Regions from separate parts of the Homo sapiens genome. Here region 2 is linked to region 1. The links are contacts of gene promoters, found by promoter capture Hi-C in human tissues and cell types (Jung and others, 2019). All regions are on one chromosome and are shown on one strand. Each heading gives the region's core, a stretch centred on a gene start or on the middle of the fragment in contact. The rest is flanking DNA. Distances are from core to core; before and after follow the strand shown. Region 1 holds the start of MYCL (MYCL proto-oncogene, bHLH transcription factor). Region 2 has its middle 40 kb from the start of CAP1.

Region 1 (5,230 bases), core at 1,699-4,198:
AGAGCTCCGTTCTCAGCTTCTTTGCATATCAGGAAGCTTGAGCCCCTTTGTCAGGAAGGCTTCCATTGTGTGGACAATCGCATTATTTCTCCATTAATAAACCTGACCATTCAGCCCTCCTGGCCCCAAAGCCCATGATTGGCTGATTACGCTGTGTTTGGACTTCTGTCTTACCCAGCCCCTAGCCCCTATTGGGTGAGCTCTGCTGCCAATCACTTTCCCCACCCCCCGCCTCATTGTTTGCAATCTGTTGCATTTTGTTCCAGGCCATGTGGCCTGTGAGTGAACTAGAAGCTCACAAACAGGTTCAGGTTAAAGGGTAGGTTAGAAAATGATTCAGCAGGCTTCCCTACATCCCAAACCTTTAATTTTCAGTGTTAAGCCTCGTGGCTCAGGAAGATTCTATCTAAGAAAGAAATAATTTAAGACACCATTCTCCCTTTCAGAGAGTAGTGTCTTACTCTATCCAGACAAGGAAATGTCATCAGCAGGACAATCAAGTCCAACCCCATCGTGTGCAAATGGGGAAACTGAGGCCCAGATCAGCGAAGTCCACATATCACCTTTGTAACGTTCTGGATCTCAAACTAAAATGTCCAACTTCCAAAGCAATGCTCTTTCCACTCTACCACTCCACCAGCCGTTGTAGAGATACATCTTTATTGGTTTTTTGATCTCAAGATTCTCTTTCCAGCCATTAAACAAACATAAACTCTTGGTGTAGAAAGCAAGCTGGTTAAAAATGACCTTAACACAGTGGACCAGGAAAAAAAAGACTTTTAATTTTTGTTATCCTATTTTTTCTCTCAAGTGTAGGAAAACTTCCATACCCCATTCCCCAGTTCCCTATCAAATGGTCGTGTAAAAGTTATTCCTAAAAGCTACAGTGAGCTTTCTTGGTCCTAATTTATTTGTCACTAGCCACAGTCTACACTCTACAAAAATACCCTCTCCAGGATTTCTCACGGGTGTGGAGGTCTAAGATGCCAGAATAAGAACAATGTAGTTTAGTGGCACAGGATGCCCCAGTCTGCCCTCAGCGAGGTTGCACTTGCATCAAGGATGGGAGAGGAGGGCCTGGAGTTCTACTGCCTTGACCCCAGCATGTAGCCCACAGATTGCCACAAAGTAGGGGCCAGTGAATATTTGTTGAATGCCAGGGAGCAGCTGACGCTGGAGATCTATTGAGGGGGAGCAAGAAGGACACTTTTCCATCTCAGGACAAACAGCAAGGCAAGGTGTAGTGCTTCTAAGATAAGCTACCACAAAGACCCCAAACATCAAGGAAGAGGTGCCTGGTTGGGATGGAGCATTGGGGAAGAGGGGCTGGCTAGATGGCAGAAAGCTGGAGCTGACTTGTAGTGATTGTCTATCTCTAAGCCTCAGTTTTTCCATCTGTTAATGGGGAGTGTTCATTCTTCCCTCCCTGTCTCAGGGATGCACGAGTGGTAAGTGGTGGTGGGGAGGCACGAGAAGAGGGCATTTATTATTGGCATTTTAAAGTAAAGCCAACTGGAGACCTAGGTTTTTAAAAGGACGAAGGTTTTGGCTTTGCACAAAAGGCTCTCGGCTTCTTCTCCCCCTAGGGGAGTGTGAGTTTCCTAGGGAAAGAGGCAGCAGCAAAAAAACTTCAGGTTTGGAGTGTCTCTTAAGGTACCCCCTTCAATCCCTTACAGTCCAACCCCAGTATTGTCCTCTCTAAGCGCCAACCCTCACCTCAAATCCCTTGTCCCCTGGGGCTCCAATAATCATCAAAGGGAGGCTGGCTCCCACGCCACTTTTCCAAACTGTTTACCAACACACCCACGTGCCAGACAGACACGGTTGGGGACTACACGGGCAGCTTCAGCCAAAGAGAGGCGGAGATGGCCCAAGAGCTTGAGAAGAGCCAATGCCTGACCTCAGGCAGGGGCAGAGCTTTGGCCACCCATGGGGTGGCCCCCTCTTGGATGGCTCGGGGAGGTCCTTACCCGAGTCGCTTGGGCTCTCGGACCCGGAGCAGGCCTGGGTCTTGGGTTCGCCCAGCGGACAGGGGGCGGCGGGCGCCGGGTTGCCGGCTTCGAGGCTGGGAGTGCAGTCCGGGGCGGCGGACGCCTTGGGCGGGTTCCCCCGGGGCGCGCCAGGAGCGAGCCGGTCGCTCACAGCTCTCTCCAGCCGTTCCCGGGCCGAGAAGCCGCTCCACATGCAGTCACGGCGTATGATGGAGGCGTAGTTCCTGCCCCAGCCTTTCGAGTGGCCCCGGGATTCCGCTTCGTCTCCGGTGCACCCTCCGGGCCACGGCTCCGGGGGACCAATCCCGGGGGCCGGGTCCCCTGCGCCGGGACCCAAGCCCCAGGGCGGCGACGTGGGGGGCGATGGCACCAGCTCGAATTTCTTCCAGATGTCCTCGCTGGGCGCCGTGGAGCGGTAGAAATCCTCCCCGCAGTCATAGTCGTAGAAATAGTGCTGGTACGAGTCGTAGTCCATGTCCGCTCCCTGCGGGAGGGAAGGGGGGACGTGCTGACCGGGTGCCGGCCGGGCGAAGGAGGTGTCCCCGGGTCCCTCGGCACAGTCGGCTGCCGGGCTCTCGTTCCTCCCCAACCCCACCAGCTTGCAGCCTGCGCCCAGTCCTCGCGTCCCGGGAAGCCGGGCCCCGGGTCAGAGTGGTAGGGGAAGCCAATCGCAGCGCGCGGACCCGACTGTGGGCAGCGAGTTCAAAGCAAACTTTGCCAGCGCCGCCCGGAGCGCAGCTCCCAGGGCCCGGCGGGGCCGGGCGGGGGCGCGCCGTGCCCAGAAGGCAGCCTGCAGCCAGCCCGCACCGCGGGACCCGCGCCCGTGCCCTGGCCACCCGCAGCCTCACCTCGCTCCAGCCGCCCGCCACCTGGAGCGGACCGGCTCCCCGCCGGCTCGGGGCAGCCCGGCAGCCAGCACACACGCACATGCGCGCCGCCGAGAGCGCGGCCCGCACTCACAAGCGCGCCCCCCCCGCGCGCGCGCCCTCCCTCGCTCGCGCACGGCGGCCCGGACGCTCTCGGGATCGGCGCGGGAGCGCGAGCTGCAGGCGCATTGTTTCCTGACTGCCTTATATCTCGTCGCGCGCCCGGGACCCAGGGACTGGGGGGCGGGCCCTATGGGACAAACCCCGCCCTCTCCCTGCCTACTACGGGCAGTCGACAGGTGGGGCCGGCCCCACCTCCTGGCAGCGCTCGCCCGCTCCGTTCAATCCCCGGTAGCCCCCCAAATAAATTGCACGCTGGGGAGCGCAAACAGGAGGAGGGCTGATGCGGCCCGGCGGCCGCTTGGCGGTGCCAGCCGGCTGAGCTAAACCGTGCTCCTTGCCCACTCCGAGCTGGGGAATTAGGGCTACTCCCCGCCCCACCCTGCGCGCCTACTTTCCCCGGCGCACCCCGCTGGGTTCAGGTGCGCCCGAGCCGCCGCGAGGGGTAGGGGGAGGGAAACGCGCCACCTGGCGGCCCTCAGCCCTGAACTTGGGCTGGTCCCGGCGTCCGTCTGGTCACCCGTCGGCCCGTTTCTTGAGCTCAGTGGCCCAAGCCTGGATGGCATCGAAGCGAAGATTCCGGGATTTAGAGCCCGAAACGTAACCTTCCTGAGCTTCAGTTTCATCTGTAAAATGAAGGGATGGTAATGCTTACCTCACAGGGTTGTTGTGAGGCTTCAGGGAAATAAGAGCATCTAGGGAAGGGGTCTGGTCTAGGTGGAGAGGCAGACGGCGCTGGCTTAGCCCCCGCTTTGGGGAGGCGGTGCAGAAATGAGGAATTTTTCCCAGGGCAAAGCCAGCTGAGACCCGCCATGCTCCCTCTCATCTCACACAAAACACTGTAGGAGCTGTACAGTAGAGAATGAGGATTTGGCATCTGGAAAATACTGCAGGACCAAGTTGTTTCAAGTTTTGCCCTGCATTGCTGGCCAAGATGATAGATAACCCCTTTGTATAATCTTCTTTTTAAATTTTAAATATATTTTGTTAAGAGACAGGGTCTCACTCAGCGTCAAGGCTGGAGTGCAGTGGCTCGATCATGACTCGCTGCAGCCTCGAACTCCTGGGCTCAAATGATCCTCCCTCCTTAGCCTCCGAAAGTGCAGGGATTACAGGCACGGGTCACCGTGCTGGGTCCCCCTTTGTGTCATCTTCTACACAGATGACCTTTGGTGGAAGAGAAAAAATTAAACTATACGGCCAGTCTGAGATTTAGGCCAGAGGAGAGTAACTTGGGACAGCAGCCAATACATCTAGATTCCTCCACCTGGCATCAAGGTCTGGTGTCTGTCTACCCCAGCCTGATTGTCTGCTGTCTCTCTCTTTCCCTCCCACCCCTGTGGTCTAAGAACACCAAACTACTCACTGTTGGCAGACGGAAGTGAGAAGGGCAAGCAATTCAGTGTGGTTGGAGCATGGGACACGGATGTGTGTTGTTATATGGGTTGGGAAGGCAGGGAAAATGACAGCCTTCCGTTTTAGATACGTTGGGTCTGTGCTGCATGTGGGACATCTTGAAGGCAGAAACCTGCTCCTACTTGCTTTGTGATTTCTGCACCTAGAACAGCTTCTGGCAGACATTTGTGAACTAACTGACTTACTGAGGGACTCAGCTAACCAGATTTCACTGAGACAGCTTGTGTGCCCTGCTTTGTGCTAAACGGAAGACACAAATCAGAAGGGTTCCAGGTTTGGTTGCAGCCCCAAGGCACAGGCATTGGATTGTCCTTTAGTGACTTTTCTCTGGTCCACAGATGTCTGAGATGGTTGCTGTACTAGTCTGGGTTATTGGTTACAAATAACAAAAACCAACCTTAGGCAGGGCACAGTGGCTCACGCCTGTAATCCCAGCACTTTGGGAGGCTGAGGCGGGCAGATCACAAGGTCAGGAGATCGAGACCATCCTGGCTAACACGGTGAAACCCCATCTCTACTAAAAATACAAGAAAATTAGCCGGGTGTCGTGGTGGGCACCTGTAGTCCCAGCTACTCAGGAGGCTGAGGCAGGAGAATGGCGTGAACCCGGGAGGCGGAGCTCACAGTGAGCCGAGATTGCGCCATTGCACTCCAGCCTGGGCGACAGAGCGAGACTCTGTCTCAAAACAAAAAAACAAAACAAAACAAACAAACAAAAAACCAACCTTAGACAAATGTAAGCAGAAAATGACTTTATTGGAATAATTGGTGGTATAGACCTCAAGGGAGGCTGGAAATTTATGTTTGGAGAATGGGCCTTCTTTACCTAGACTACAG
Region 2 (5,230 bases), core at 1,888-4,387, 100 kb after region 1:
AGGATGGTCTTGAGCTTCTGACCTCAGGTGATATGTCTGCCTCGGCCTCCCAAATTGCTGGGATTACAGGCGTGAGCCACTGTACCTAGCCAGTTTTTTGTTTGTTTGTTTTGAGATGCAGTCTTGCTCTGTCGCCCAGGCTGGAGCGCAGTGGCACAATCTCAGCTCACTGCTGCAACCTCCACCTCCCGGGCTCAAGCGATTCTCCTTCCTGCCTCAGCCTCCCAAGTAGCTGGGATTACAGGTGCCTGCCACCATGCCTGGGTAATTTTTTGTATTTTTAGTAGAGATGGGGTTTTGTCATGTTGGCCAGTCTTGTCTCAAACTCCTGACCTCAAGTGATCTGCCCACCTTGGCCTCTCAAAGTGCTGGGATTATAGGCATGACACTGTGCCCAGCCACTTCTAGTTAAGTTCAATAAGCCAAGTTCAGTTTAATAAGCTGCGTTCCAAGAAGTTGAAATGCGTCATGCCCAGATTTCAGTGGTTCACAGCCCATATCTTCAGTGGCAGAGAGACAAGACCAAGTGGAACTATCTATTGCAAACTGGTGTCCGTGTTGTTCTGTGAAGAAGGGATGATCAAGTGAATATGCAGTTTCACCATCAAGATATTTAGGAACATCTTTCCCAATGGGGTTTCACTGATATCCATGCAGCCAGCAATCTGTCAGAATTCTTAGGAAGGACTCAGAGCAGTGTTTGCTGTGTTAAGAGTATGAATCCTCTCCCTCTCCCTCTCCCTCTCCCTCTCCCTCTCCCCCTCCCCCTCCCCCTCCCCTTTCCACGGTCTCCCTCTCATGCGGAGCCGAAGCTGGACTGTACTGCTGCCATCTCGGCTCACTGCAACCTCCCTGCCTGATTCTCCTGCCTCAGCCTGCCGAGTGCCTGCGATTGCAGGCACGCGCCGCCACGCCTGACTGGTCTTGGTGGAGACGGGGTTTCGCTGTGTTGGCCGGGCCGGTCTCCAGCCCCTAACCGAGAGTGATCCGCCAGCCTTGGCCTCCCGAGGTGCCGGGATTGCAGACGGAGTCTCGTTCACTCAGTGCTCAATGGTGCCCAGGCTGGAGTGCAGTGTTGTGATCTCCGCTCGCTACAACCTCCACCTCCCAGCCGCCTGCCTTGGCCTCCCAGGGTGCCGAGATTGCAGCCTCTGCCCGGCCGCCACCCCGTCTGGGAAGTGAGGAGTGTCTCTGCCTGGCCGCCCATCGTCTGGGATGTGAGGAGCCCCTCTGCCTGGCTGCCCAGTCTGGAAAGTGAGGAGCGTCTGCGCCCGGCCGCCATCCCATCTAGGAAGTGAGGAGCGCCTCTTCCCAGCCGCCATCACATCTAGGAAGTGAGGAGCGTCTCTGCCCGGCCGCCCATCGTCTGAGATGTGGGGAGCGCCTCTGCCCCGCCGCCCCATCTGGGATGTGAGGAGCGCCTCTGCCCGGCCGAGACCCCGTCTGGGAGGTGAGGAGCGTCTCTGCCCGGCCGCCCCGTCTGAGAAGTGAGGAGACCCTCTGCCTGGCAACCACCCCGTCTGAGAAGTGAGGAGCCCCTCCGCCCGGCAGCTGCCCCGTCTGAGAAGTGAGGAGCCTCTCCGCCCGGCAGCCACCCCATCTGGGAAGTGAGGAGCGTCTCCGCCCGGCAGCCGCCCCATCCGGGAGGGAGGTGGGGGGTCAGCCCCCCCACCCGGCCAGCCGTGCCGTCCGGGAGGGAGGTGGGGGGGTCAGCCCCCCGCCCGGCCAGCCGCCCCGTCCGGGAGGTGAGGGGCGCCTCTGCCCGGCCGCCCCTACTGGGAAGTGAGGAGCCCCTCAGCCCGGCCACCACCCCGTCTGGGAGGTGTGCCCAACAGCTCATTGAGAACGGGCCAGGATGACAATGGCGGCTTTGTGGAATAGAAAGGCGGGAAAGGTGGGGAAAAGATGGAGAAATCGGATGGTTGCCGTGTCTGTGTAGAAAGAAGTAGACATGGGAGACTTTTCATTTTGTTCTGCACTAAGAAAAATTCTTCTGCCTTGGGATCCTGTTGATCTGTGACCTTACCCCAACCCTGTGCTCTCTGAAACATGTGCTGTGTCCACTCAGGGTTAAATGGATTAAGGGCGGTGCAAGATGTGCTTTGTTAAACAGATGCTTGAAGGCAGCATGCTCGTTAAGAGTCATCACCAATCCCTAATCTCAAGTAATCAGGGACACAAACACTGCGGAAGGCCGCAGGGTCCTCTGCCTAGGAAAACAAAGGTTCACTTGTTTATCTGCTGACCTTCCCTCCACTATTGTCCCATGACCCTGCCAAATCCCCCTCTGTGAGAAACACCCAAGAATTATCAATAAAAAAATAAATTAAAAAAAAAAAAAAAAAAAGAGTATGAATGCTGAGGCCGGGTGCAGTGGCTCACGCTTGTAATCCCAGCACTTTGGGAGGCTGAGGTGGGCAGAACACCTGAGGTTGGGAGTTTGAGACCAGTCTGGCCAACATGGTGAAAACCCGTCTCTACTAAAAACACAAAAATTAGCCAGGTGTGGTGGTGCATGCCTGTAATCCCAGCTACTTGGGAGGCTGAGGCATGAGAATTGCTTGAACCTGGTAGGCAGAGGTTGCGGTGAGCTGAAATGGCGCCACCGCACTCCAGCCTGGGCAACAGAGTGAGACTCTGTCTCAAAAAAAAAAAAAGTATATGGATGCTGATGACATGAGATGGTTAGGACAGAAGATTTCTCATCCCGTAAGCAACCTGATAACCTCGTACCAGCCAAATGGAAGGCCACAGGAGCTTTGCATTTGCTGCTCCCTTCCCCTAGTTCTTCATGTCTCCTATTCCTGGTAATTGTCATAAAACCTAGGAAGAGGAACTGAAAGCTTGCTTTCAAACAGGTGGAGTCCTTTAAGAAAAAGAATACAACCGGGCACGGTGGCTCACGCCTGTAATCCCAGCACTTTGGGAGGCCGAGGCAGGTGGATCATCTGAGGTCAGGAGTTCGAGACCAGCCTGGCCAACATGGTGAAACCCCATCTCTACTAAAAAATACAAAAATTAGCCAGGCGTGTTGGCAGGCGCCTTAATCCCAGCTACTTGGGAGGCAGAGACAGGAGAATCATTTGAACTCGGGAGGCAGAGGTTGCAGTGAGCCAAGATAAAGCCATTGCACTCAAACCTGGGGGACAAGAGCAAGACTTCTCTCAAAAAAGAAGAGAAAAGAAAAAGAATACAAAAGTATGAATACAAAATTAGGTACAAGTTCTTGGAAAAGTGTTTTGCAAGTAAGGGTTCTTAAATTTTAAGCTTCCTTAGCTTCATGGTAAATATGCCTCTAAGCCTGCCTGAGATTTGGGAAACTTCTTTCTGCCTGCTTTATTTCTGGCCATCAGTCCTTCTGGAAGGCAATGTGGAAAAGGACCAAATTCCACCATATTAATTACTGCTGAATGGGTAGCATAACATCAGAGCAGGAAGCCTGGATCATCACAGAAACCAGCCTTTCACTAGCTCATTAAAGGTCAACTTTGAAATGAGAGAAACAAGTAGAAATAGCAAGAATCTATCCGGAAAACATCCGGGTTATTATGACTATTTTCTCAGCATTATGCTGATTGTTCAGAGGTTGTTTGTACTGTATTATGAAGTGTGGAAAAGAGCCAAGATGATTAGGCCAACCTCTGTTATTTATAAGTTCCCTTGGCAGTAAGATCTCCCTCCTTTTTTTAAAAAAAAAAATTAATTTGCTAGGGATGGAATATCACACCATTTTTAATGAGATGGCCCCTGGCTTGCTATAGTATAGCCAGGGATGACACAGAAGCTATGTTTTCCAGCTATCTTTTTTTTTTTTTGAGATGGAGTCTCGCTCTGTCACCCAGGCTAGATTGCAGTGGCTGATTTTGGCTCACTGCAACCTCGGCCTCCAGGGTTTAAGCAATTCTTCTGTCTCAGCCTCCTGAGTAGCTGGGATTACAGGCGCTGGCCATCACACCCAACTAAATTTCATATTTTTAGTAGAGACAAGGTTTTGCCATGTTGGCCAGGCTGGAAGCTGTCTTTTAAATTGACCTGTGACTATATATCTGATGTGATCTGATTTGTATTTTGAAAAGTTCCCCTAGCTGTTGTGTGGAGAGCTGATAGTGGGGACAAGAGTAAAAGCAGGCAAATGAGTTAAGGGGGTATTGCAGTGGTGTAGGCAGGAGATGATGTGGGTTTAGCGTTGGTAGGTGGGACTTCTGATAAGTGGTTGGATCCTGGATATCTTTTGAAGGGAGAGACAACAGGACTGCTAAAGAATTGAACGTGAGGTGGGTGGGGTGGGGGTTGAGAGATGGGAGGAAAAGAGGATTGAAGGTTGCTTCCTAGAGTTTGGCCTGACCTAGTAGATGAAATTACAGAAAAAAGGAAGATGGCTGGGCGCAGTGGCTCATGCCTGTGATCCCAGCCCTTTGGGAGGCCGAGACGGGAGGATCACTTGAGGTCAGGAGTTCGAGACCAGCCTGGCTAACATGGTAAAACCCCATCTCTACTAAAAATACAAAAAATTAGCTGAGTGTGGTGGCACACGGCTGTAATCCTAGCTACTCGGGAGGCTGAGGTAGGAGAATCGCTTGAACCCAGGAGGTGGAGGTTGCAGTGAGCCAAGATTGTGCCATTTCACTCTAGCCTGGGCGACAAGAGCAAAACTCCATCTCAAAAAAAAAAAAAAAAAAGAGAAAGAATAAAGAAAAATGGAAGATGAGGGTAAACACATGTTTGAAAAAGACAATTGAGAATTCTTTTTTTTTAAAGTGAAATAGTTTACTAAATTGATTGAGTCTAATTCAAGAATTCTTTTTTGATCATGAAATTGACCAGGTCTATGACTCCACAGTCTAAGGGATACCTATTCTAAACAATGTAAATTTTCAAGTCAATCACTAAAATAGTCATCAATTAAATACTAAGCTCTATAAATGCCAATGCAAATGATATATTCACAGAAATAAATTTTATTTCTATTACCCTGACATAGAGAAAGCCATGTCGAGTCAGTGTTATAACTAGGTCAGCATAACCAAATTCCACTTCCTCTGGAGACTTTCAAGGCTTAAAAATAACATATAAGAAGAAGTAAAACTCAAATAACCACTGTATTTGTGGGCCAAGCAATAATATGTAAAATGCAACTCTTGAGGTTTCATTATCAACAGTAGACAATTCTGAATGATAATCTTAAATGGGCAAGTCTGATATATCTTCATTAATCAATTAATTTCTTTAT

What was found. Contacts are between HindIII fragments. The study calls those that stand out against the background at their distance.
Region 2: a contact is called between a fragment that was not itself captured here and the fragment with the promoter of MYCL in region 1, in 6 of the 25 tissues and cell types used here (IMR-90 fibroblasts, dorsolateral prefrontal cortex, hippocampus and 3 more).

What each region holds. Positions count from the first base shown.
Region 1 is chr1:39,898,969-39,904,198 of GRCh38, forward strand. It overlaps MYCL (MYCL proto-oncogene, bHLH transcription factor), which reads right to left and starts at 2,949. Exons shown (of 2, transcript NM_001033081.3): 1 at 1,971-2,949. The coding sequence starts at 2,466. MYCL-AS1 (MYCL antisense RNA 1) reads left to right here. Exons shown (of 3, transcript NR_183425.1): 3 at 1-130. RefSeq lists an enhancer at 49-343 and silencers at 2,203-2,322, 2,733-3,052, 3,313-3,522. The HindIII fragment of the contact is 12,166 bases long and covers 1-5,230 here.
Region 2 is chr1:39,998,299-40,003,528 of GRCh38, forward strand. No RefSeq gene overlaps it. Among named protein-coding and RNA genes, the nearest start is that of CAP1, 40 kb to the right of the region's middle. The HindIII fragment of the contact is 5,951 bases long and covers 163-5,230 here.